4 separate regions of the Homo sapiens genome follow, and all the other regions are linked to region 1. Evidence: promoter capture Hi-C in 16 types of primary human blood cells and fetal thymus (Javierre and others, 2016). All regions are on one chromosome and are shown on one strand. Each heading gives the region's core, a stretch centred on a gene start or on the middle of the fragment in contact. The rest is flanking DNA. Distances are from core to core; before and after follow the strand shown. Region 1 holds the start of RAPSN (receptor associated protein of the synapse). Region 2 overlaps MADD (MAP kinase activating death domain). Region 3 overlaps MADD (MAP kinase activating death domain). Region 4 overlaps DDB2 (damage specific DNA binding protein 2).

Region 1 (7,603 bases), core at 1-2,500:
CATAGCGCAGGGCCTTCTCGAAGCTCTCCAGGGCCTTCTGGAAGACGCTGAGGCCCAGGAAGGCATTGCCCATGCTCAGGCTGACCTGGCCTCCGAGCTGGGCACCTGCCCTGGTACCAGGCAGCCCAAGGCAGGTCTTGCAGTAGGAGATGGTCTTGTGAAACTCGCACAGCTTCTCGTTGCTGCGTGCCAGGTTCAGGTAGCTCTCCAGGAGGAAGTCGGCATCCTCCAGCTCCCGGGCCGTGTCGATCTGGACCACAGCGAACTGCACACAGCGACGGTGGGCAGGTGGTGCTCAGCCTGGACTCTGAGCCTTGGACCCCAGCCTGCACTGCAGGCTCAGACCTGGAGGCCCCACACCCACCCCCCAGCCTCACACCCAAAGCAGCAGATCCCAAAGCTTCTTTTCAGACCCAGAGCTTCTACCCGCCAGCCTCAGCTACCTTCCCTACACCCCAGCCTCACCTCCCAAGCTCAGGCTTGCAGCCTTCACCTTCTATCCCAAGCCTCAGATCTGGAGTCTCCACCACCCACCCACCCCCAGCCGCAACCCTGGAGCCCACACCCCGCCAGGCTCAGACACAGAACACCAGACAGGAAGGCTGAAACCTACAATGGGCTTGAGACCCACAAACCCTCGACCCTGAGGCTGGAGAACCTCAGTCTCAGAGACTCGGGCACCACAGTTCAAGGCCACAGGCCTGAATCTGATGCCAAGACTCAGTATCTAAGACCCAGGGCCTTAGATATAAATTCAGAGCCTCGGGCCCTGGCTGCCAGCCTGTGGGACACAGGGGAGCCCGAGGAGGCCGAGAGGGGACTGGGGAGCCTGGGAGACATCCGGCCCCAGCCTGACCCTCGAACGCCCCCAGGCCGGGTACACCCACCTTCAGCATCTCCTTGTAGCGGCCCATCTCCGAGTGGGCTGTGACCAGGCAGCCCAGCACGCGGAAGCGCCCCATGAGGTCCGAGCTCTTCTCCAGCACCTTTGTCCACACCTGCAATGCCTTCTCTGTCTGGTTGGACTGGTACAGCTGGAGCCCCTTCTCGATCTGCTGCTTGGTCTGGTCCTGCCCCATCCTCCCCAAGCCCTGTGTCCCACGTGGGGTGATCCCTGGTGGCTCCGTGCCTCTAGGCACTCATGGGGCAGGAATCACAGTGCCAGCTGCCCCCCGAAACGTGGGAACAAAAGCAGCGTCGGGTGGGAGCCGGAATGGGGCCTGGATGGAGAGCAGGCGCCACCCTGGGAACAAAGCTGGTTCAGCCCGTCTGCAGCTGTCGCTGCCAGTTGGGGCCACATGGCCTCTGAGGAATGTCAGCAGCAAGGTCACGTGGGCCTCTGCTGCACCCACCCGCGAGCTGGGACGTGGCTTCCCTGAGCATACAGGCACCTTGCCACCTGGGCACCCCCTTGGGCGTCCCTTAGGCACCTCTGACACTGACCCTGACCGCCCTGGCAGCACGGGCCCTCCCAGCAGCCTTGCCAAGGGGCCAGCTCCAGCAAGTGGGCAGGCCTTGGGCTAGAGGTGCTCGGGGGAAGGAGAGCGAGGCTGGACCTGCAGGTCCGGGGAAGCCAGGTGAGCGCCCAGCCCTGCTTCTTCCCCATCAAGACACCCCTGACCGCAGCATCCCCTGGCTCTGTTCCTGAAATTCACTGAGCACCGTGGGTCACTCATCCAGGCCCAGGCTGACACCATTCACCAACTCTCACCTTAGAGAGTCTGGGAAAGACCTCCAGCTGGTGAGAGGCCTGAGCTCTAGCCTGGCTTCCTTCGAACTCTCAGTGGGACCCTAGCCAAGTGACCTGGCACCGTGGACTGAAGAGAGGAATGGTACCTGGCTCACTGGACTGCTATGAGAACTCAATGACGAAAGAGTTGAGAAGGACTTAGGACAGTGCCCGGCACAGGAAACCCCGCATGTGCTGCAAGAGGCTATTTTGCTCCATGGCAAATCCCCACCCGGGCCAGAACCCAGCCCTTGAAGTTTCAATGTCTCACTTCCAATCCCAACCCCGGGCTGAAAGGGTCCTCATAATGAGATTTAACACCAGATACTGTGGAGAAGGGCAAGGTCTTATGTAGTATTGGGGCCCCCGCTAGCAGGCCAGCTCATCCAGCCCCCCTTTCTCCTCTCTCTGCATGCCAGCCTTCTTCCTGCCCCAGGGCAAAAGTTTATCCTTTCTGGCTGGGCAATTCAGTGGTTTTTAGTATATTCACAGAGATGCACATTAATTGCCACTAATTCCAGAACATTTTAACCACCCCAAAAAGGAGACGCACACCCATCAGCAGTTACACCACTCCATTCCCCACCTTGATATGACTGAATCATGTCCCCCCGCAACCAAACGCATATGTTTAAGTCCTAACACTCAGTATCTCATAAGGTGACTGTCTTTGGAGACAGGGTCTTTAAAGGGTGATTAAGGTAAAATGAAGTCACATTGTACCTCATCCAGTTAAGACTGGTATCCCCCCCCCCTTTTTTTTGAGACAGGGTCTCACTCTGTCACCTAGGCTGGAGTGCAGTGGTGCAGTCACAGCTCACTGCAACCTCTACCTCCTAGGCTCAAGTGACCCTCCCACCTCAGTCTCCTGGGTAGCTGAGACCACAGCTGTCTAGTTTTTGTAGAGATGGGTTTCACCATGTTGCCCAGGCTGGTCTTGAACTCCTGGAGGTGGAGGTTTCAGTGAGCCGTGATTGTGCCACTGCACTCCAGCCTGAGCACCAGAGCAAGACCTTGTCTCAAAAAATAAATAAACAATAAATTTTTATTTTTAAAAATTATTTTTGAGACGGAGTTTTGCTCTTGTTGCATAGGCTGGAGTGCAGTGGCACAATCTCAGCTCACTGAGACTTCTACCTCCCGGGTTCAAGCAATTCTCCTGCCTCAGCCTCCCAAGTAGCTGGGATGACAGGTGTATGCCACCACGCCTGGCTAAGTTTTTGTATTTAGTAGAGACGGGGTTTCACCATGTTGGTCAGGCTGGTCTTGAACTTCTGACCTCAGTTGATCCACCTGCCTCAGAGCCTCCCGAAGTATTGGGGTTATAGGCGTGAGCCACCATGCCTGACCACAATACTTTTTTTTTTTTTTGAGACACTTTCCCTCTGTCACCCAGGCTGGAGTGTGGTGGTGCCATCTTGGCTCACTGCAACCTTCACCTCCCAGGTTCAAGTGATTCTCCTGCCTCAGCCTCCTGAGTAGCTGGGATTACAGCTGCGCACCACCACACCTGGCTAATTTTTGTATTTTTAGTAGAGACGGGGTTTCACCATGTTGGTCAGGCTGGTCTGGAACTCCTGACTTCATGATCTGCCCACCTCTGCCTCCCAAAGTGTTGGGATTACAGGCGTGAGCCCCCGCACCTGGCCCACAATAAATGTTTAAAAAGGACACAGTCACACAGAAGAAGAGCACGTGAAGACACAGGGAGAAGATGGCTATCTACAAGCCCAGGAGCAAGGCCTTAGAATGAAACCAACTCTGCCAATTCCTTGATCTTGGACTTCTAGCGTCCAGAACTGTGAGAAAATAAATTTCTGTTATTTAAGCCACCTGGTGTCTATGGACCTGTCTATTGTGGACCCTTCACAGGAATGGAATCATACAATATGTGGTCATCTGTGACTGGCTTCTTTAACTTGGCATAATGTTTTCAAGATTCAACTATGTTTTCAACCGTATCAGAACTTCATTACTTATTGTGGTTGGTTAATACTCATTGTCTGGATATACATTTTGTTGATTCAGCAGTTAATAGGCATTTGGGTTGTTTCATTTTTGGCTACTATGAATAATGATGCTATAAAAATTCATGTACAAATTGGGCTGGGCACGGTGGCTCACGCCTGTAATCCCAGCACACTAGGAGGCTGAAGCAGGCAGATCACTTGAGCCCAGGAGTTGGAGACCAGCTTGGGAAACATAGCGAGACCCCATATCTACAAAAAATACAAAAAAAAAAAAAAATTAGCTGGGTGTGGTGGTGCACAGCTGTGGTCCCAGCTACTCGCGAGGCTGAGGCAGGAGAATCGCTTGAGCCTACAAGCTTGGACTGCAGTGAGCCGCAATCATGTCACTACACTCCAGCCTGGGTGACAGAGCGAGACCCTGTTTCAAAAAAATAAAAAATTCATGTACTAGGTTTTATGGGGACATGTTTTCATTTCTCTTAGGTATATGCTTGGAGCAGAAGTGTGAGTAATATGGCAACTGTTACATTCTGGTACCTGCCTACCTGTCTGCCCCAGGGCCTTTGCACCTCCTAATTCCTTCTCTGTTCACCACACCCACACTCTGCCTCGTAAGTCATAATTAGGATGAATCAGCATATTATCCTCTCATTGAATTACACTGCATTCTGATACAGGACTTATCTCTATAATTTTATTTTGAGACAGGGTCTCACTTTGTCGCCCAGGCTGGAGTGCAGTGGTACAATCTAGGCTCACTGAGGCCTCGACCTCCTGGGCTCAAGCCACCCTCCCACCTCAACCCTCGCAAGTAGCTGGCATTACAGGCAATGCCACCATGCCCAGCTAATTTTTATATTTTTAGTAGAGACGGGGTTTCACCATGTTGGCCAGGCTGGTTTTGAACTCCTGTGCTCAAGTGATCCGCTGGCCTGGGCATCCCAAAGTGCTGGGATTACAGGCGTGAGCCACCACGCCCAGCCTCTCTATAATTTTATATTAGTGAGGTTGTTTGCTGAATGTCTTTATTCTTCACTCAAATGAGGTCATATGGCTGGGCCCTAACCCAGGGCAGGACTTTGTCTCCTTCATTACTGACTGTATTCCCAGAGCAAGGCCCGGCACACTGTGGCCCCTCAATAAATGTCAAATATCGGTGAATGGGGAAGAAGCGGAGGAAAGACGGCTTCACCGGGAAATTCAGAGCAACTACACGGCCTGCTTCCTGAGAGCCCAACGGGTCAGAGGGGACGCTCTGGGGGTCAGAAGGCAAATGCCCCAGGCTCAACAGAGGCAGAGTGGGAGCAGGCTCTGGGACAGGTGGCTGGGCAAGGCCACCTGGACTCCCCAAAGGAGTGCTCCTAAGCCTGGGAAAGGGAGGGAGAGCTGGCTGGGGTCTTCTCTCATCTCAGGGAGGCCTGGGTTGATGCTGAGCTGCAGATGGGAGGGAAGCTGGGCCCACAGCGAAGGTGTGAAGGGCCAGCAGATTCTCCCCACTCCAAGGCCCAGACACTATTCACATTGAGTCTCTGGCAGGAAGGAATGGAGGAAGGGCGGCCTGCATCTACACCCCAACAGAGTTGGGGACCACAGCCTTCCTCTTTCCTGGGGAACTCAAATGACCTCAAAACTTGAAAACTTGATGGGATCAAGCTGTCCTTTCCCTGAGACAGGTCTTTGCTCATCTGACTTCAGTGATGGGAATATGCCCATACTCGCTTATTCTAGGTAGCAGAGTACCTTATGTTTCCTTGAAACATTTCATTTCTTCTTTATTATTATTTTTTTTTTTGAGATGGAGTTTTTCACTCTTGTCGCCCAGGCTGGAGTGCCCGTGGTGGTGAGAGGTGAAGCCAGCTGGACTTCCTGGGTGGAGTGGTGACTAGGAGAACTTTTCTGTAGCTAACTAGAGGTTTGTAAAATGCACCAATCAGTGCTCTGTAAAAACACACCAATCGGTGCTCCGTAGCTAGCTGGAGATTTGTAAAATGGACCAATCAGCACCCTGTAAAATGGACCAATCAGTGCTCTGTAAAATGGGCCAATCAGCAGGACATGGGTGGAGACAAATAAAGGAATAAAAGCTGCCTCCCCGACCAGCCCATCCCCACCCCAACAAGCCAGCAGCAGAAACCCGCTTAGGTTCCGTTCCACGCTGTGGGAGCTTTGTTCTTTTGCTCTCCACAATAAATCTTGCTGTTGCTCACTCTTTGGGTCTGCACCACCTTTAATAGCTGTAACACTCACCACAGAGGTTTACGGCTTCATTCTTGAAGTCAGCGGGACCACGAACCCACTAGAAGGAACCAACTGCGGACACAGTGGGATCTCGGCTCACTGCAACCTCTGCCTCCTGGGTTCAAGCAATTCTCCTGCCTCAGCCTCCCAAGAAGCTGGAATTACAGGCGAGCACCACTACACCTGGCTAAGTTTTGCAGTTTTAGTAGAGACGGGGTTCCACCATGTTGGCCAGGCTGGTCTCGAACTTTTGGCCTTAAGTGATCTGCCCGCCTCAGCCTCCCGTGAGCCACCATGCCCGGCCTCAAAAATTTCATTTCTGAGCACGTTTTCCAGAAATCAGCGACTGTAGTTAGGTTAAGGGCATGCTCCTCTATGGCAACGACTGTGGTTTACTTGTCTTTGTACTACTAGTAACTAACGGCACGGCCCCTGGCAAGGTAAGAGGAGACCAACAGAGAATCCTATTTAACATTCTAACATTTTCTGAGTTAAGCATTTCTTCCAGTTTACAAATGAGGAAACAGGCATGGAGAGGTAAGGTGACCTGCCCAAGACTACACTGCCATCTGCTGGTCCTAGACAGCTGGGACCAGAAGCAGTGTGGTTGTAGAGTCTCGTTCTTTTTTTTTTTTTTTTTGAGATGGAATCTAGCTCTGTTGCCGAGGCTGGAGTGCAGTGGCGCAATCCTGGCTCACTGCAACCTCCACCTCCCGGGTTCAAGCGATTCTCATGCCTCAGCCTCCTGAGTAGCTGGAATTATAGGTACGTGCCACCACTCTTGGCTTTTTTTTTTTTTTGTATTTTTAGTAGAGACGGGCTTTCATCATGTTGTCCAGGCTGGTCTCGAACTCCTGACCTCAGGTGATATGCCTGCCTCGGCTTCCCAAAGTGCTGGGATTACAGGTGTGAGCCAACACACCTGGCCAGGACTCCCATTCTTAACCATTATACTGTACTAGAAAGGAGGCGAGGACAAGGGAGATGGAGAAAGTGGAGAACAGAACAATAGTTTTCCGGAATTCATTGCGATCTTTACCTGAAGCACAGCAAAGTCACTGGGAACTTATCCAAAGCTGTAGCCTGGGTGGGCAGAAGGCATGTATTAAGGAGAGGGTAAAGAGTTAAGACTTGCTTACCAGTGCCCAGTAGATGAAAAGCCCTGGAAGGTGTTAGGGAACAGCCACAAAATGAAATGGTCTTTTCAGTGCCACTTAACCTCACAAGGTGGTGATACAGTCGGGGGATTCAGGGCTATCACCAGAGTGCCTGCTGGGCCAGGTACCAGCTGCACACCTCACATTTTAGATCCCTGTTTTATAATCAAAAGTAGAAAATTAAGTTTGGGCCTGAAGCAAGAGTCACAATCTGGCATGTGAGGACTAAATATTTCTGAGTTGGTTGGCAACATGTGTTATCTAGGAGATTTTACATAAAAATGTACATTTCCTTGCTTCTCTTGAAGAGTGGAAGCTTGGCCTGGTGCAGGGGCTCACTCCTGTAGTCCCAGCACTTTGGGAAGCTGAGGCGGGCAGATCACCTGAGCTCAAGAGTTCGAGACCAGCCTGGCCAATATGATGAAACTTTGTCTCCATGGAAAATACAAAAAATTAGCCAGGCATGGTGGCATGCACCTGTAGTCCCAGCTACTCAGGAGGCAGAGGCA
Region 2 (6,904 bases), core at 2,564-5,063, 130 kb before region 1:
GTGGTACATGCAGGGACAGATACAAACGGAGATATCTTTTTCATGGAGGTAGGTGCTGGTTCATGCTGGGGGCCCAAAGGGCTATTGAGAGTCACAGGGAACTCATAGGACCGATGCCAGGATATTTTTCTCATTTATCTCATTCATCTTCATGATCTATTTATCATTAAATTATCAGATTGGTTTTTTTGTTTTTTGCGTGTGTGTTTTTTTGAGATAGTGTCTCGCTCTGTCACCCAGGCTGGAGTGTAGTGGCTTGATCTCGGCTCACTGCAACCTCCGCCTCCCGGGTTCAAGCAGTTCTCCTGCCACAGCCTCCCAAGTAGCTGGGATTACAGGCGCCAGCCACCAAGCCCAGGTGATTTTTCTATTTTTAATAGAGATGGGGTTTGATCATGTTGGCCAGGCTGGTCTCAAACTCCTGACCTCAAGTAATCCACCCACCTTGGCCTTCCAAAATGCTGGTATTATAGGCATGAGCCACCGCACCCGGCCAAATTATCAGATTGTTATTCAAATAATTAAATTTTATATAGTAGATGATACCCATTTCTTTTTTTTTTTTTTTTTGAGACAGAGTATCGCTCTGTCACCCAGGCTGGAGTGCAGTGGTGTGATCTTGGCTCACTGCAGCCTCCACCTCCCAGGTTCAAGCAATTCTCCTGCCTCAGCTTCCTGAGTAGCTAGGATTACAGGCATGCGCCACCATGCCCGGCCAATTTTTTGTATTTTAGTAGAGGTGGGGTTTCACCATGTTCGTTGGCCAGGCTGGTCTTGAACTCCTGACCTCAAGTGATCCACCTGCCTCGACCTCCCAAAGTGCTGGGATTACAGGTGTGAGCCACTGCGCCCGGCCCCATTTCTTTTATACACGTGCGCGCGCACACACACGCGCACACACATATACATAAAGATATCTATATATAGATGATATAGTCACATTGTTCATAAATCAGAATAACAGAAAATAGTACACATTGGGAGGTCTTGCACTCATTCTTGTCCCCTTCCACTGAATTTCCCACTCCCCTCACCCCTTCATCCTATAGACAACCACTTTTATTGGTTTCCTTTGTAAATTCCAGTGGATTTTTTTTTTCTTTTTCTTTTTTTTTTTTTTTTTTTTTGAGACGGAGTCTCACTCTGTCGCCCAGGCTGGAGTGCAATGGCTTGATCTCAGCTCACTGCAACCTCCACCTCCTGGGTTCAAGCGATTCTCCTGCCTCAGGCTCCCAAGTAGCTGGGATTACAGGCGCCCACCACCGCACCCAGCTAATTTTTTGTATTTTTAGTAGGGATGGGGTTTCACCATGTTGGTCAGGCTGGTCTCCAACTCCTGACCTCACTGATCCACCCGCCTCGGCCTCCCAAAGTGCTGAGATCATAGGCGTGAGCCGGTGCACCCGGCCTTCCAGTGGACTTTTATGCAAACAATAAAATATGAACACAAATTCTTATTTTCCTCCTTTCTTTTTTTTCTTTGAGACAGAGTGTTGCTCTTTTGCTCAGGCTGGAGTGCAGTGGTCCAAACTCAGCTCACTGCAACCTCTGCCCCTTGGGTTCAAGTGATTCTCCTGCCTCAGCTGCCTGAGTAGCTGGGATTACAGTCGCCCACCACCATGCCCAGATAATTTTTCTATTTTTAGTAGAGACGGGGCTTCACCATATTGGCCAGGCTGGTCTCAAACTCCTGACCTCAAGTGATCTGCCCACCTTAGCCTCACAAAGTGCTGGGATTATAGGCGTGAGCCACCCCGCCTGGCCTATTTTTCTCCTTTCTTTCAGAAAGATAGCACATCTTATCCATTGCTTTATCCCTTGCTTTTTTCATTTAACATTGTCCTGGTCCTCTTCTGTATCAGTACCAAGAAAGCTTTCCCATTGGTTTTATGGCTACATGTATTCCACTGTGTGACTGTGCCTTAATTTATTTAACCAGTCAGTACATATGGATCCTTGGGTTGCTTCCAAATTTGCTGTTACTGATAGTCATACTGTGAATGATGCTGTGCCTGCTTCATTTCATACATGTGCAAGTGTGTCTAAGGATTCCCAGAAATGAGATTGCTGGGTCAGAGGGACAATGCATTTGTAATTTTGGTTGATATAATTCTTAAGTGTCTCATAACACGTAATACCCCCTTTGCCATTAATTTTGTTGAAGAAATTGGATCGTTTGCCCTGTGGAGTCTCCTACATTCTAGATTTTTTGCTGATTGTGTCTCCTTTGTATTAGCGTGTTTCCTGTCACATATTTCTCATAGACTGGTAGTTCAGTTTAGAGGTTTGATCACTTTCAGATTCACTCTTTTGGGAAGAATACTTAATGAGTGGTGCTATACGCTTCCTATTGCCTCATATGGTTGTCCCTCTCTTACACATCAGTGGGCTCAGATGTGGGCAACCTGATCTGCCCACCAGAAAGTTCCTCATTTGTCTTCTGATTTTGCCTATGGTATTTTTTGACACACATAAATTTTTTATTTGTATATAACTTTTTTTTTTTTTTGAGACAGAGTCTCTCTCTATCGCCCAGGCTGGATGCAGTGGCATGATCTCGGCTCACTGCAACCTATACCTCCCGGGTTCAAGCAGTTCTCCTGCCTCAGCCTCCCAAGTAGCTGGGTTTACAGGTGCCTGCCACCACACCCGGCTAATTTTTGTGTTTTTAGTAGAGATGGGGTTTTACCATGTTGGCCAGGGTGGTCTCGCACTCCTGACCTCAAGTGATCCACCCACCTCGGCCTCCCAAAGTGCTGGGATTACAGGTGTGAGCCATCACGCCTGGCTACTTTTATATAATTAAATTAATCAATAGTTTCTTTTACGGCTTCTGGATTTTGAGGCATGGTTAGAAAAAGCCTTACTCTCCAGGATTATAAAGGAAATTGGCCGTGTTTTCTTCATTTCTGTGTTTTTAATTCTGAAACAGACCTAAGTAATTTTAAGGACCAAATACAACTCCTATATATAAAGTAGTAAAATTTTGCCTATGTTATCTGTTCCCCTGTGGTTTAGCTGAATTTGAATATCACATTCACAGTTTTTTTGAACAGGTGGTCTACCAAACGCAAGAAGGGCTTACCCTGAAGCAGAAACATACATGTCAGTGTAGCCAAGAAGGAGTCATTTTCATGTCACCCTTTAAAGTGTTAGAATTTGGCTAGTTGCCTCTCAGAGCCTAGGGCTGACTTAGGACATCTGCACCACAGCAGAAGTGGCACATGACTCTTGCCCTTTTCTTTTCCTTTTAAAAAAAATATCTCCAGCAGATTCCTTGAACTACTCTTACTCTCACCACCGTACAAAGGGAGCCTCATGCTAAGTCTCTGGAGTGTGGGACTGGACCCATTACCCAAATAGATGCCTCTTCCTCGAAGTGGTGCCATGCCAGGGAAGAGTGCACCATGGTCACTGTGCCATCACCTGGCTCCTGTGAGGCTATTTGATTTAGCCTTTCTCAGAGCATAGCCTGCTTTTTGCATGATCAACTGGACAGCAGTTTGGGAATTTTTTTTTTTTTTTTTTTTTTTTTTTTTTTTTTTTGAGACAGAGTCTCACTCTGTTGCCCAGGCTGAAGTGCAGTGGTACAATCTTGGTTCACTGCAACCTCCACTTCCCAGGTTCAAGCGATTCTCCTGCCTCAGCCTCCTGAGTAGCTGGGACTACAGGCACATGCCATCATGTCTGGCTAATTTTTGTATTTGTAGTAGAGACGGGGTTTCACCATTTTGGCCAAGCTGGTCTCGAACTCCTGACCTCAAGTGATCTGCCCACCTCAGCCTCCCAAAGTGCTGGGATTACAGGTGTGAGCTGCCACACCTGGCCAAGGAAAATATATATATATATATAATTTTTTTTTTTTTTTTGGAGGTGGAGTCTTGCTCTGTCACCCAGGCTGGAGTGCAGTGGCACAATCTTGGCTCACTGCAACATCCACCCACCGACTTCAAGAGATTCTCCTACCTCAGACTCCCGAGTAGCTGGGACTACAGGCACGCATCACCACGCTTGGCTAATTTTTGGTATTTTTAGCAGAGATGGGGTTTTGCCATGTTGGCCAGGATGGTCTTGAACTCCTGACCTTAAGTGATCCGTCTGCCTTGGCCTCCCAAAATGCTAGGATTACAGGTGTGAGCCACCATACCCAGCCAAAGATTTTTAAAAATTGTCTTTGTTGCCCTTTTTTTAGTTACAGAAGTAAAACAGTATATGCTGTAAATGTTTCAAACCGTGCCAAAGTTAAAAAATAATTAAAAGTTTTACTCACTGCCTTTCAATCCTTTGTCCCAGAGGTAACCAGTAATGAAGAGTTTTATGTGACTCCTTTCAGATTATTGAAAATGCATATTTGTGCAAATATAATTTATTTATATGGAATTTTGTTTTTGCACTTACGAAAGTGGTATCAAATTACAAATATTGGGCTGGGCATGGTGGCTCACATGAGCCTGTAATCCCAGCACATTGGGAGGCCGAGGCAGGTGGATAACTTGAGGTCAGGAGTTCCAGACAAGCCTAGCCAACGTGGTGACACCCTGTTTCTACTAAAAATACAAAAATTAGCCGGGCGTGTTGGGCAGGCGCCTGCAATCCCAGCTACATGGGAGGCTGAGGCAGGAGAATCGCTTGAACCCGGAGGCGGAGGTTGCAGTGAGCCGAGATCATGCCACTGCTCTCCAGCCTGGGTGACAAAGCGAGACTCCATCGCAAAAAAAAAAAAAAAAAAAAAATTACAAATATTGTTAAATAATTTGCTTTTTTCACTTAATGATATACCTTTCCGTGTCTTTTTTTTTTTTTCTTTAATGGATGCTTAGCCATTAGATGTCGTATGGTGTACCATAATTGGTTTAACTAGTGCCTCTCACTATTTTTTAAAAAAATATTACTCATGCTGGGTGTGGTGGCTCACGCCTGTAATCCCAGCACTTTGGGAGGCCAAGGTGGGTGGATCACGAGGTCAAGAGTTCAAGATCAGCCTGGCCAAGATGGTGAAACCCTGCCTCTACTAAAAATACAAAAAATTAGCCAGGCGAGGTGGTGGGTGCTTGTAATCCCAGTTACTTGGGAGGCTGAGGCAGAGAATTGTTTGAACCTGGGAGGCGGAGGTTGCAGTGAGCCGAGATTGCACCACTTCACTCCAGCCTGGGCGACAGAGCAAGACTCCGTCTCAAAAAAAAAATTTAAAAAAATGAAATATATATTTATATATTACTCATTAGGCCAAGCATGTTGGCTCACGCCTGTAATCCCAGTACTTTGGGAGGCTGAGGCAGGAGGATTGCTTGAGCCCAGAGTTTGAGACCAGCCTGGGCAACATAGGGAGACCCTGTCTCTATAAAAAATTTAAAAATTAGTCATACATGTGGTGATGTATGCCTGTGGTACCAGCTACTGGGGAGGCTGAGGTGGGAGGTTCGCTTGAGCCCAGGAGGTCAAAACCAGCCTGGGCAACATAGGGAAACCCCGTCTCCACAAAAAATTTTAAAATAAGCTAGGCATGCTAGTGCATGCCTATGGTCCTAGCTACTGGGGAGGCTAAGTTGGGAGGATCCTTGAGCCTGGGAGGTCAAGGCTTCAGTGAGCTCTGATTACACCACTTCAGTCCATCCTGGGTGACAGAGCAAAACCCTGTCTCAAAAAATAATAATAATAATAATAATTGCTCATTGAATATCCTTGAACATATATTTTTGCACCCTCACATGAGAATTTCTATAGGATATAGTCCTAGACATGAAAATTTCAAGTCAAGCTTATATACGTTTAAAATTTCGGTAGATTTTGCCAAATTGCCATCCCAAAAACTATACCAGTTTACACCTCCAACAGCCACTTAGACGACTATAACAGTATATTACAAGCATTTCTCTAGACTAGAATGCTCTAGCTTAGAAATCATGTGTTCTCCTAAATGTGTTCTGCCTGCCTTTACATGATGTTCTTAAAGGATTATGAAAGGTGGAGTGGTATTGTCCATTTTCCCCCTGGAGATAACCACAGAGTCAGACTGGGCCTAGAACTCAAGTTTCCCATTCCTACTCTGCCACTTTGACTGATTCTTCAAAGGCTTTAGAACTCCAGTAAAGTCTTATACAGTAGCTTAAACCTGATAGTCTTGTGTGTTCCTTACTCACTCACCTAATATTTGTGGAGCACGTATTATATGCTAGGTACTTTGTTGGGTGTTGGGATTATAGCAGTGAATAAGACAGACGTGATTTCTATTGCCCTTAGCATTGACAAGCTATTGGGGAAATCAGATAATTAAAGAGTATTATAAAATATGGTGAGCATTATGAAAGAAGCTCAGGGGGGGCAGAATAAATACCAGAGGGCCTAGGAGCTGTGGACAACTCCTTTGAGAAGTTGACCTTTGAGCTTAGACTTGAAGAAAGAGTAAGAGTTAATGGTTGGGGAGTGGAAGAGCAGTCAGGGATATTTGAGCTAGAACCAATGGGACTCAGTGATGGAGTGTAGTTAGTTAGAGGGAAGAGGAAGGAGTCGGGCATCAATTCTTCATTTCAGGCTGGGGCAGCTGGGTGGATGGTGGTGCCATTTCCTCAAATAGCAGACTTAAAAGGAGGATCTGCCCAGGAGGAGATGTTGAGTTCAGATTTGGACACAATGAGTTTGAGGTGCTACATGTGAAGCATCCAGACACTGAGAAGCTCAGGAGCTCAGGAAGAGAGGTCTAAGATGGAGAAAGGTAAGAACCATCAACATGGTAATAATCATTAGTATCATAGTTCTGATATCTAGTAGCTAATTAGGGTACTTTCTGTGTGCCTGGCTTTGTGTGCACCTTAAATACTTTATGCACATTAACTCATTTAGTCTTCATAGTAACTGTAGGAAGTTATTACTGTTACTATCCCCATCTTACCTGTGAGGAATTGTG
Region 3 (5,680 bases), core at 593-3,092, 170 kb before region 1:
CAGAAATAGCTGTGCAGCGGGGTGAAACGTTTTATTTAGAGAAGTGTATAGACACTTAACACGAAATAAATTATAATTAAGACCATGAAAGCTTTTCCTAATTTTAGGACATAGTTTAGAAATTTCTCTGAGCACGTCTCCCTGTCCTTGCAGAAATCCTGGTATTTCTGCCTCTAATTCATAGCCTCTGTAATGTATAGTAGGACAAGGACTCATCTGTGGGTATTGTATTACTGATTCTGAGCCTGAGATCAAAATAGAGGAGAGATTATGATTCAGCACCAAGGGCAGAGCTAGTAGCAGTGGCCTCTGGGCTCCTTTCTTGCCTGAAGGAGGGAGAAAAGTGGTGCAGATTAGGCAATTGGGGCATGGACATTTTCATTTGAGATCACATGAGGTAGAATAGCCAGCTGTTATTGTCTGAGCATGGTTAACTAGACAGTCTATGTGGTAGTTTTACATCAAGCTGAATGTAGATTGTTGAAACAGAATAATTAAGTTTCCATCTAGACCTAGAAGTGCAGGTTAGTGCTAGCTAGTTGAGGAGTCTGGTTTGATCCTGATCCACCCTGGAGGGATCCTGAGAGTGACTTCAATTTTTGTTACAATGACTGAGTCCAGATTAGATGGCCTAGGTCTGTTTTTCAGAAACAGAGCCCCAGGCGTTAAGCTGGAAATTAAGTCATTGGTAGGGATAGGTAGGTGAACCATTATTTATCTACATTTTTTTTTTTTTCTTGAGACGGAGTCTCACTCTGTCACCCAGGCTCGAGTGCAGTGGTGCGATCTCAGCTCACCACAGCCTCCACCTCCTGGGTTCAAGCGATTCTCATGCCTCAGACTCCCGAGTAGCTGGGATTACAGATGTGTGCCACCACACCCGGCTAATTTTTTTGTATTTTTAGTAGAGATGGGGTTTTGCCATGTTGGCCAGCTGGTCTCAAACTCCTGACCTCAGGTGATCCGCCTCGGCCTCCCAGAGTTCTGGGATTACAGGCGTGAGCCACCATGCCTGGCCTATCTATTTTTTAACATTCGATTCTGTGAGCTCATGAGCCTAGACACGAGGCTAGGCAAGCGTCAAGTTCTCCTATCATTAGTATGAAAGTGGAAGACCTTCTGACCTCTGCCTCTGGCCGGGAAGAAGTTGAGAGGGATGAGTCCCTTAGGCACAGCAGTGGATCTTATCAGTACTTTTTTTCCTATTAGACTTCGATTTTCAGAATTCCTCCTGGGAATGCTGACTCCTTGCTTGGTGCCCTGATGCTTCTCTGAGATAAACTGATGAATTGGAACCATGGTGCAAAAGAAGAAGTTCTGTCCTCGGTTACTTGACTATCTAGTGATCGTAGGGGCCAGGTAACCAAGAAGAGATTGACTTTTGTCTTAATATCTGGGATAGCCATAAAATCTGCAGTTGTTCCCTTCTCCGATTTCCATGTTGCTTTGCATAGCTCATCTTCTCCTGTTATTTTACCCTGATGGGAGCATCGAAGCCAGTAGGGAAAAAACAAAATCAGGTGGATTGAAAGCAAAACCCTGCTCTTAACTAACATCTTCTTGATGTCGAGCAAATATACTCTTTATACCTCAGTTTTCTTATTTTGTAAAAAGAAAAAGTACATTATAAGCTACTCCTCTATGTATACTTTTTTGGTAATTTATTAGTTAATTCACTTTAAAAGATGTTAATCATCTTAAGGTGCCAGTGATAATTTTATTGTCAAAATCTCCCCTTCGTTTCAGAATAGATGCCTTCATGACAGTGTAGACTTCACTTAGGTTACCAGCTCCATGCGGCAGGCAGCACCCATATTTTCCAAGGTGTTACAGTCAGGTTACTTTATCCAAAATAGCATCTTGAGCTTTATTTGTTGACTGTGGTTAAAATTTGATAGCCCATTCCATCCCTTCAGGCTGCTGAATTTGTCTTTATGTTCTTCAGGCACCCGAGCAGTGATAGCGTGGCCCAGACTCCTGAATTGCTACGGCGATACCCCTTGGAGGATCACACTGAGTTTCCCCTGCCCCCAGATGTAGTGTTCTTCTGCCAGCCCGAGGGCTGCCTGAGCGTGCGGCAGCGGCGCATGAGCCTTCGGGATGATACCTCTTTTGTCTTCACCCTCACTGACAAGGACACTGGAGTCACGCGATATGGCATCTGTGTTAACTTCTACCGCTCCTTCCAAAAGCGAATCTCTAAGGAGAAGGGGGAAGGTGGGGCAGGGTCCCGTGGGAAGGAAGGAACCCATGCCACCTGTGCCTCAGAAGAGGGTGGCACTGAGAGCTCAGAGAGTGGCTCATCCCTGCAGCCTCTCAGTGCTGACTCTACCCCTGATGTGAACCAGTCTCCTCGGGGCAAACGCCGGGCCAAGGCGGGGAGCCGCTCCCGCAACAGTACTCTCACGTCCCTGTGCGTGCTCAGCCACTACCCTTTCTTCTCCACCTTCCGAGAGTGTTTGTATACTCTCAAGCGCCTGGTGGACTGCTGTAGTGAGCGCCTTCTGGGCAAGAAACTGGGCATCCCTCGAGGCGTACAAAGGTACAGTTTGCTGCTGATGCCTAATGGGGGAAGCATTTAGAGATTCCATGTAATTGGTCTTTGAGGGGCATAGGAAATTTCCTCTACAGCTCAAGGTCCTTCAGACCTATTAAGCATATTTAGAGTATTTAGAGTTAATCTTTTTTCTTTTGGAGACAGTCTCGCTCTGTTGCCCAGGCTGGAGTACAGTGGTGCGATCTCGGCTCACTGCAACCCCTGCCTCCTGGGTTCAAGTGATCCTTCTGCCTCAGCCTCCCGAGTAGCTGGGATTACAGGTGCACGCCACCATGACCAGCTAATTTTGGTATTTTTGTAGAGACAAGGTTTCGCCATGTTGGCCAGGCTGGTCTCAAACTCCTCACCTCAGGTGGTCCACCCACGTTGGCCTCCCAAAGTGCTGGGATTATAGGCGTGAGCATCATCCCCAGCCAAGAGTTAATCTTTACTAAGCAAAAGACTGCTGCAGAGTTAGACCTCTTTCCAAAATTGTGTTTGGAGTAATGCTGGAATTTGGTGTTTTAACTGTGGTTAGGACAGTAAGTCTTACCCAGTATATATCTTTACATTTGCTTTTGCCATTGTATATACTTTCCGGTCCTATCTGAGCTCAGAGACTGGGCTTTCTTAATGATGCTCCGTTTCCCATTGTCATCATTAGAGCCTCTGTGGTGATACTGAGTTGCAGTAGGGTATCAGCTTCTGATGCTAATGTGTCTGATTCCTGCTGTCTGCTTCTCAGGGACACCATGTGGCGGATCTTTACTGGATCGCTGCTGGTAGAGGAGAAGTCAAGTGCCCTTCTGCATGACCTTCGAGAGATTGAGGCCTGGATCTATCGATTGCTGCGCTCCCCAGTACCCGTCTCTGGGCAGAAGCGAGTAGACATCGAGGTCCTACCCCAAGAGCTCCAGCCAGCTCTGACCTTTGCTCTTCCAGACCCATCTCGATTCACCCTAGTGGATTTCCCACTGCACCTTCCCTTGGAACTTCTAGGTGTGGACGCCTGTCTCCAGGTGCTAACCTGCATTCTGTTAGAGCACAAGGTGAGAGGCAAGCTTCCTAGACCTTTCTAGGGGAGAAACTCTTAAATATGCCAGTGGCCAGACCACGAGCTCTTAGAGGACAGGGACTACATATTTTTCACCTTTTTGTCTTCAGGAGGTAACATGATGCCTGGTAAACAGCAGGTGTTCCGTAGATGTGGGTTGAATTAAGATACTGGTATCATGTGGGATGTATTTAGAGGGTTTACCATTCATTAGGGCTTATCCTTAATTGTACTGACCTAATTCTTTGGAAATATCAGTAGTTCTGTTTCAGTGAGTGGTCCTGGGATGGGCAGTACAAGAACTAGGAAGGTAAGGGAGTGATTTGCATATCTCAGGTGACTGAGGATCACCATTGTGCCTGGATTGGGAGGTGGCAGGCATGGTGGGGCAGGGGGCAGTGGGAGAGACAAAGCTGGAGCTGTAGGCTCGATGAAGTGGAAACCAAGTTGTAATGTTGGAAGCTGTTTTCTTGTAAACCATATTTTATGTTTTGGAGTGATTCTTACTGGATGGCTCATGACAGGTGGTGCTACAGTCCCGAGACTACAATGCACTCTCCATGTCTGTGATGGCATTCGTGGCAATGATCTACCCACTGGAGTATATGTTTCCTGTCATCCCGCTGCTACCCACCTGCATGGCATCAGCAGAGCAGGTGAGTCTCAAGGCGACTTCCGGCTTTCTCACCTCTGTCTTCCTGAGGGAGGAGGCTTAATGCTCAAAGAAGTTGTAAGTGAGTGCTGGTCCTCAATCCTTTGTCATAACTTATTTGTCTACAAAATCTGACTGATTTGAACTGATCTGGTGGCAAGGCTTATGCTATTTTAGTTTTCATTTATCACAACAAATGTTAATGACTGTAGGCCACTGGCTACACTGCAGCAGGTGTTACGTGTGTTACGTAATACAGTAGTTCCTCCTTATCTGTGGAGGACACATTCCAAGACCCACCAGTGGATGCCTCAAACCACAGATAGTTCCAAACTCTATAGATACTTTGTTTTTTTCTATACATATATACCGGTGATACCGTTTAATTTATGAATTAGACACAGTAAGAGAGTAACAGTTTTCTCTTTGGGCATATATTTGGTGTTTTTTGGAGACAGAGTCTCCCTCTATCCCCCAGGCTGGAGTACAGTGGCACAATCTCGGCCCACTGGAGCCTCTGCCTTCCAGGTTCAAGTGATTCTCCTGCTTCAGCCTCCCTAGTAGCTGGGATTACAGGCACTGCCACCACCACACACCAAATAATTTTTTGTATTTTTAGTAGAGGCGGGGTTTCACCATGTTGGCTGGGCTGGTCTTGAACTCTTGACCTTAGGTGATCCGCCTGCCTCAGCCTCCCAAAGTGCTGGGATTACAGGCATGAGCCACCGTGCCCAGCCTCTTTCTACATATATTTGGCTTCTCTTTGGCATATCCCAATTGCCAGCATCAGTACCCTTGTGCTTTGGGGCCATTATTAAGTAAAATAAGGGTTACTTGAACACAAACGCTGAGATTGTGTGACAGTTGATCTGATAACCGAGATGGCTACAGGCTGGACACAGGGGTGATTCATGTCTGGGTGGGACAGAGCGGGACAGCATGAGATTTCATCATGCTTCTCAGAACTATTGTCCTGCACTTCAGATATGATCAAGCTGCAGTTTAAAATTTATGAATTGTTTATTTCTGGAATTTTCCTTTTAATATTTTCAGACTACAGTTTGCCTCAGTTAACTGGAATCACAGAAAGTGAAACTGTGGATAAGAAAGACTACTGTATACAAAAAAATGTACCATGTTACCTTTCAAAAAATCTGAAAAATTCTGAATTTTCAAATACATCTGGCCTCAAGAGTTTTGGAAGAGGGATTGTATCTGCATTTCCTTATCTAGAAGAATCCAGACTTGATAAGTGCTCATGATAGGTTTTGTCTTTGTTTCTCACCTTCTTTATCATTTCCACAGCTGCTGTTGGCTCCAACCCCGTACATCATTGGGGTTCCTGCCAGCTTCTTCCTCTACAAACTGGACTTCAAAATGCCTGATGATGTATGGCTAGTGGATCTGGACAGCAATAGGGTGAGGTTCTTGGCTGAGG
Region 4 (6,666 bases), core at 2,749-5,248, 220 kb before region 1:
TTTGCATTCTTGGAATAAGTTCATCCTGGCCATAACATATTTATCGTTTTTAAATATTACTGGATTGAGCTGGCAAATATTTTAAGATCTTTGCATTTGTGTTCATGTGTAAAATTGGCCAAATCCTTGTCACATTTGTGTATCAAGATTATGCTGATTTCTGGCCAGGCGTGGTGGATCACGCCTGTAATTCCAGCACTTTGGGAGGCCGAGGGGGTCGGATTATGAGGTCAGGAGATGGAGACCATCCTGGCCAACATGGTGAAACCCCGTCTCTACTAAATATGCAAAAATTAGCTGGGCGTGGTGGCGCACTCCTGTCATCCCAGCTACCCGGGAGGTTGAGGCAAGAGAATCGTTTGAACTTGGGAAGTGGAGGTTGCAGTGAGGTGAGATCGTACCACTGCACTCCAGCCTGGCAACAGAGTGAGGCTCTGTCTCAAAAAAAAAAAAAAAAAAAAAAGATTATGCTGATTTCTGTGAATTGCTTGAGCCCAGGAGGCAGAGGTTGTAGTAAGCTGAGTGCACCACTGCAGTCCAGCCTGAGCGACAGAGCACAACTCTGTCTCAAAAAAAAAAAAAATTATGCTGCCCTCTTTAGCTTGGGAATTATTCCCTCTTTTTCTAGTCTGTGGAGACGGAGGGTTTAAGATCAATATCTGGCTGGGTGCGGTGGCTCACTCCTGTAATCTCAGCACTTTGGGTGGCCAAGGTGGGCAGATCACCTGAGGTCAGGAGTTCAAGACCAGCCTGGCCAACATGGCAAAACCCTGTCTCTACTAAAAATACACAAAAATTCGCCAAGCATGGTAGCAGGTACCTGTAATCCCAGCTACTCGGGAGGCTGAGGCAGGAGAATTGCTTGAACCCAGGAGGCAGAGGTTGCAGTGAGCCAAGATTGTGCCACTGCACTCCAGCCTGGGCAACAGCATGGGACTCTGTCTCAAAAAAAAAAAAAAAAAAGGAAGGAAAGATCAATATCTCTTCCTCAGCCAGGTCCGGTGGCTCATGACTGTTGGGAGGCCGAGGCAGGCGGATCACTTGAAGTCAGGAGTTCGAGACCAGCCTGGCCAACATGATGAAACTCCATCTCTCCTAAAAATACATAACTTAGCTAAGCGTGGTGGCGTGAGCCTGTAATCCCAGGTACTTGGGAAGCTGAGGCTGGAGAATTGTTTAAACCCAGGAGGCGGAGGTTGCAGTGACCTGAGATGGCACCATTGCACTCCAGCCTGGGCTACAGAGTGAGACTCCATCTCAAAAAAAAAAAAAAAAAGAAATATCTATCTATCTATCTATCTATCTATCTATCTATCTATCTATCTTCCTCTTTCTTCATCTTCTTTTTCCCTTCCTGAACAGTTCAAACCAAAAGTCATTAGGTAGGATCAAGCAAGATAGATGTTTACGTAGTGGGAAGGCTACAGTGCTGGAAGTGCCAGATGCTGGGGCCCCTGAAGCTGAGGTGAATGTCATTACAGGTGGCAGGTGGCAGCTCAGTACATAGAGACTGGGCCCAAACAAGATCAGAAGGGCATCCATGTAGGCAGGGGTGAAGAGTAGAGGAGGCCGGGCATGGAATAGTGAAGTCTGAAGCGGGGTTGAGGATGCTGAACCACAGGGAGGCCTAGAGTGGGGTGGCGGAGTCAAGTGGGGTGAGCAGGGCTTTTGCATGGAGAGGGGCGGCCGTGGCGCCTGATGTGGGCAAGGAAGTTGTGTCTGCATGGTTGAGGGAGTGGAGAGAGGGAAGAGGGTGATTGTGCCCTCGGGAGGGTAAAAGAGTCCAAGCATCCTAAGGAAGACGTGCATTTGGGGAGTGTGTGGCAGCAATAGTGGAAGACTGGTTACATACAAGGAGATTAATCAAATATGTAAGTATATTGAGTAAAATGGGAACCACATTTTTCACTGTCAAAGAAGGGAATTATAAACATGGAAAGAGAGAAACTCGAATCAACTCTGTGGTGTTGACTTTGAATTGAAGACATTGATACAAATTTAAGGTTTTCAGTATACAAAGTAAGACAGTTGTGAAGCAATCTGATTGCAGATTCCTTTTACATTTTTATTACCTTAATCTTTTATAAGTATCTCACCCTATGCTTAATTTGATGGCTCTTCTTTTTTTTTTTTTTTTTCTTCTTCCTAATAGAGACAGGGTCTTGCTCTGCCACCCAGGCTGGAATGCAGTGGCAGGATCATAGCTAACTACAGCCTTGAACTCCTGGGCTCAAGTCACCATCCCACCTCAGCCTCTCGAATAGCTATGAGCACAGGTGTGCACCATCACTCCCAGCTAATTTTTAATAATTTTTTATAGAGGCTGGACCCAGTGGGTCATGCCTGTAACAGCACTTTGGGACGTTGAGGTGGAAGGATTGCTTGAGCCCAGGAATTTGAGACTGGCCTGAGTTACATAGTGAGACCCTGTCTCTAAAAAAAAAAAAAAAAAAAAATTGGTGACACACACCTATAGCCTATAGCACCAGCTACTTGGGAGGCTGAGGCGGGAGGATTGCTTGAGCCCAGGAGGTTGGGGCTACGCTGAGCCAGGATTGCACCACTGCATCAAGGTTTTGAACTCCTGGCCTTAAGCGATTCTCCTGCCCCAGCCCCTCAAAATACTGGGATTATAGATGTGAGCTACTGTGCCCAGCCAATAGCTATTATTTTTGCAACTCATTATCAAGTTCTTCCAAAGCTTTCAACACGGCTTTTATAGTAGTAATAATGGCCTTTGTTTTTGCATGTATTTCATCAATTTACATGCTTAATTAAATTTGGTGTTAATTGCAATAAAAGATACAATTGGAATAAACAGGTTTGAGAACAACTACAACCAACCCTTGGTTTGGTAAGCATAGAACTCAACTGGAGGGAGCCGAAGATTGTCATACTACCAGCAAGCATTTGGCAGACCATGAGCATTAGAATGACCGTGAGGTTAGAATGTTTTATAGAGGGAAGGGAATGTGCCAGTTAGTATGTTGTGATAGCTAAGTGGTTGTTGCATAGAAGAACTTGTACAGGTCTGTGAGGCTGGGATAGCTGCAGCGTAAAGAAGAAGTGGAAAAGGTGGAGAAAGGCGGACAAGTGGAGAACTTTACATCTTGGGGATGTAAAGTTCTTAAAACAGTGCCTGACTGGGCGCAGTGGCTCACGCCTGTAATCCCAGCACTTTGGGAAGCCGAGGCAGGCCAATCACCTGAGGTCAGGAGTTCGAGACCAGCCTGACCAACATGGTGAAACCTGTCTTTACTAAAAATACAAAAATTAGCTGGGTGTGATGGTGTGGGCATGTAATCCCAGCTACTCAGGAGGCTGAGGCAGGAGGATCACTGGAATCCAGGAGGTGGAGGCTGCAGTGAGCTGAGGTTGTGCCACCGCACTTCAGCCTGGGCGACAGAGCAAGCCTTCATCTCAAAAAAAAAAAAAAAAAAAAAAAAACACACAAAGAAAATCCCCCCAAAAAACCAGCGCCTAGTACATAGTAAGCACTTAATAAGGTTAAGCCATTGATATTCTCATGATTATTTTCATCATCATTTTCATGAATGTTTGGAAGAATAGGAAGGGGCACAGATCTGACTCCTGCCCTCCTAACTCAGCCACTGCTCTGAGCTGAAGCTCTTCTAAAGAGAGCACTGTGGGAATAACAAATTAGGGCACATCCATGTAATGGAATACCTCAGCAATAAAATGAGATGAGCTCTTGATACAGCAAACTCAGATGAATCTCAGAGGCATGATGAGTGAAATGAAACAAGACAGTCTCAAAAGGTTGCATACTGCCTAATTCATTTACATGACATTCTATTTTTAATTTTATTTTATTTTATTTTTAGAGACAGGGTCTTGCTCTGTCACCCACGCTAGAGTGCAGTGATTCGATCGCAACTCACTGCAGCCTCGACCTCCAGGCTTCCGTCATCTTCCCACCTCAGCCTTCTGAGTAGCTAGAACCACATGCACCTACCACCATGTCTAAATTTTTTTTGTGTGTGTAGAGATGGGGTCTCCCTATATTGCTTAGGCTGGTCTTGAACTCCTGGCCTCAAGCAATCCCCCCGCCTCAGTCTCCCCAGGTGTTGGGATTACTGTGCTCGGTCTATAGGACATTCTATGAGGGCAAAACAATAGTGATGGAGAACAGATCAGCCAGGGGCTGGGGGCGAGGGGAGGGTGTGATTACAATGGGATACCACGATGGAGTTTTTGGGCTGTTGCAAATGTTCTGCATCCTGATTTGGGTGGTGGTTATTTAAGTCTATACATATGTTAAAATTCAGAGAACTTTATATCCCAAATTTGCTATATGTTAATTAAAAAAAAAAGTAAAAATAAAGCCTTAAGAAATGAAGGGAGGCGGGGCACGGTGGCTCACGCCTGTAATCCCAGCACTTTGGGAGGCCAAGGGTGGCGGATTACCTGAGGGCAGGAGTTCCAGACCAGCCTGGCCAACATGGTGAAACCCTGTCTCTACTAAAAATATACAATTTAGCCATGCGTGGTGGTGGGCACCTGTAATCCCAGCTGCTTGGGAGGCTGAGGCAGGAGAATCGCTTGAACCTGGAAGGCAGAGGTTGCAGTGAGCCGAGGTCGTGACAGAGCAGGACTCCATCTCAAAAACATAAAAATAAAAATAAAAATAAAAAAAAGAAAGAAATGAAGGGGCCAGACAAAGCGGCTCATGCCTGTAATCTTAGCACTTTGGGAAGCCGTGGCAGGGGGATCGCTTGAGCTTAGGAGTTCAAGACCAGCTTGGGCAACGTGACAAAACCCCATCTTAAAAAAAAAAAATAGAAAAATTAGCTGGGCATGGTGGCACGCACTTGGGAGGCTGAGGTGGGAGGATCGCTTGAGCCCAGGAGATTGAGGCTGCAGTGAGCCGTGTTTGTGCCACTGCACTTCAGCCTAAGTGACAGAGAAAGACCCTATTTCAAAGGAAAAGAAAAAGAAGTGAAGGCCCTGTAGAGAGCGTCCTAGTGTCTAAGCTGACCTGGCCCCAAGCGCTGCTCGAGGGGTGCTTCTGTGACGGCGCAGCATGTGTGCCCAGGCCTGGTTCCTCACGGCCAGGCCCATCATCACTCACTGGCTTTTTCCTTCCTCGTGTTAGATTGGAGCTGGAGGGAGCATCACTGGGCTGAAGTTTAACCCTCTCAATACCAACCAGTTTTACGCCTCCTCAATGGAGGGAACAACTAGGCTGCAAGACTTTAAAGGCAACATTCTACGAGTTTTTGCCAGCTCAGACACCATCAAGTGAGTAGTTTAACTAGCAGGGGAAAGGGCTTCTAAGCTTAGGTGTAGTTCCGGCAAGAGCATCCAGATCCCATTTCCTTAACCCAACCTGGCCCAGGGAAGAAAGGAAAGATGTCAGCCACTTTCCGCCCTTCTTTCTCTTTCTCAAACTGCTCCTTGGCTGCCCTCACTTTGGTCCAGGTGGGTTACTGCTTTGGGAAGGTGTTCTGGAGCCTCAGCTCTTCTGTAAGTCATACCTGTATTAGACTGGACCTTGACCCTCACTAGATAAGCCAGCATGGCGTGGACCCAGAAAGCCACCTAGAGAATGGAGCAACAGCTCAGAACTTGAGACTGAATGCCCTGCACTCACTGTGGTGTAATGACCTGACCTGTTCCTGGGTGGAAGCTTATATGGATGGAATCTTTTCCATAAAGTGCTCTGGACTTCCCAAGAGAAAGTGGCTGGAGAAATTACAGAATGCGGCCGGGTGCAGTGGCTCATGCTTGAAATCCCAGCACTTTGGGAGGCCAAGGTGGGTGGATCACCTGAGGTCAGGAGTTCGAGACCAGCCTGGCCAACATGGTGAAACCCCCATCTCTACTAACAATACAAAAAATTAGCTGGGCGTGGTGGTAGGCCCCTGTAATTCCCAGCTACTTGGGAGGCTGAAGCAAGAGAATCGCTTGAACCCAGGAGGCAGAGGTTGCAGTGAGCCGAGATGGCGCCATTGCACTCCATCCTGGGCAACAAGAGCGAAAATCTATCTCAAAAAAAAAAAAAAAAAATTACAGAATACTCGTCACTTTGATTTCCAGCTAGAGCCGTGACTCTGACTGCTCCCTGAGGAATTAAGTGAGGGTGCTGGGGTGTAACTAGCATTGGATTGGATCCTGGGCTGTCCCGCAGGGATGAGGAGTGCATGCGCACGCAAATCAGCAGGCAATTGGATAGACAAGGCTCCAGGCTACTCTTCCGCAAGAAATCTTCCTGCTTGAAGATATTCATAGGGGATGGCAAAAGGCAGTGTAGCATGGATTTGAGAGTTTGAGAGAAAAACTGTGAGCTGAGCTCTTCTGGCTGAATAGCAGGATCCCTGAAGCACCCTCCTAGTCAGCCTCCCAGTCCAGTGGTTTGAGGGACCAGAAGAGCTCCTGGTTGTGTTTTTTCCCCCAGTGTTCAGAAGGGGGCAGAAGTGCTTTTCTAGCCAGCTCTGAGGAACAGGGCCAGGCAATCCCTCTTTGGCTTGTGTCTCCTTTGGCCTAAAGGGTGAAGAGTGAAAGGAGAGAGCAGTAAAGGAGGCTTGCTCAGAACCCGGGGTGTGGGGGGCAGGCGTGCCTCAGGGCTTGCTTTATGGTATAAGCTTTGTCTGCTTCAGGGACTTTTAGGAGCTGGGGATCCTGGGCCCAGCCATAACCAGACAG

What was found. Contacts are between HindIII fragments. The CHiCAGO score rates a contact against its expected background, and 5 or more counts as called.
Region 2: a contact is called between a fragment that was not itself captured here and the fragment with the promoter of RAPSN in region 1, in 1 of 17 cell types (M2 macrophages). The highest score is 7.6, in M2 macrophages.
Region 3: a fragment that was not itself captured here is called in contact with the fragment with the promoter of RAPSN in region 1 in 1 of 17 cell types (M0 macrophages); the score reaches 5.4 in M0 macrophages.
Region 4: a contact is called between a fragment that was not itself captured here and the fragment with the promoter of RAPSN in region 1, in 1 of 17 cell types (megakaryocytes). The highest score is 5.6, in megakaryocytes.

Annotation. Positions count from the first base shown.
Region 1 is chr11:47,447,886-47,455,488 of GRCh38, forward strand. It overlaps RAPSN (receptor associated protein of the synapse), which reads right to left and starts at 1,251. Exons shown (of 8, transcript NM_005055.5): 1 at 888-1,251; 2 at 1-265. The coding sequence starts at 1,079. RefSeq lists an enhancer at 7,528-7,603. The HindIII fragment of the contact is 3,655 bases long and covers 399-4,053 here.
Region 2 is chr11:47,315,280-47,322,183 of GRCh38, forward strand. MADD (MAP kinase activating death domain) reads left to right here. Exons shown (of 37, transcript NM_001376571.1): 30 at 1-48. Among named protein-coding and RNA genes, the nearest start is that of MYBPC3, 34 kb to the right of the region's middle. The HindIII fragment of the contact is 3,885 bases long and covers 1,872-5,756 here.
Region 3 is chr11:47,272,618-47,278,297 of GRCh38, forward strand. It overlaps MADD (MAP kinase activating death domain), which reads left to right. Exons shown (of 37, transcript NM_001376571.1): 2 at 1,210-1,359; 3 at 1,946-2,542; 4 at 3,282-3,585; 5 at 4,115-4,246; 6 at 5,548-5,661. The coding sequence starts at 1,298. Among named protein-coding and RNA genes, the nearest start is that of MADD-AS1, 3.3 kb to the left of the region's middle. The HindIII fragment of the contact is 3,506 bases long and covers 90-3,595 here.
Region 4 is chr11:47,227,698-47,234,363 of GRCh38, forward strand. It overlaps DDB2 (damage specific DNA binding protein 2), which reads left to right. Exons shown (of 10, transcript NM_000107.3): 4 at 5,117-5,262. Among named protein-coding and RNA genes, the nearest start is that of DDB2, 16 kb to the left of the region's middle. The HindIII fragment of the contact is 2,598 bases long and covers 2,700-5,297 here.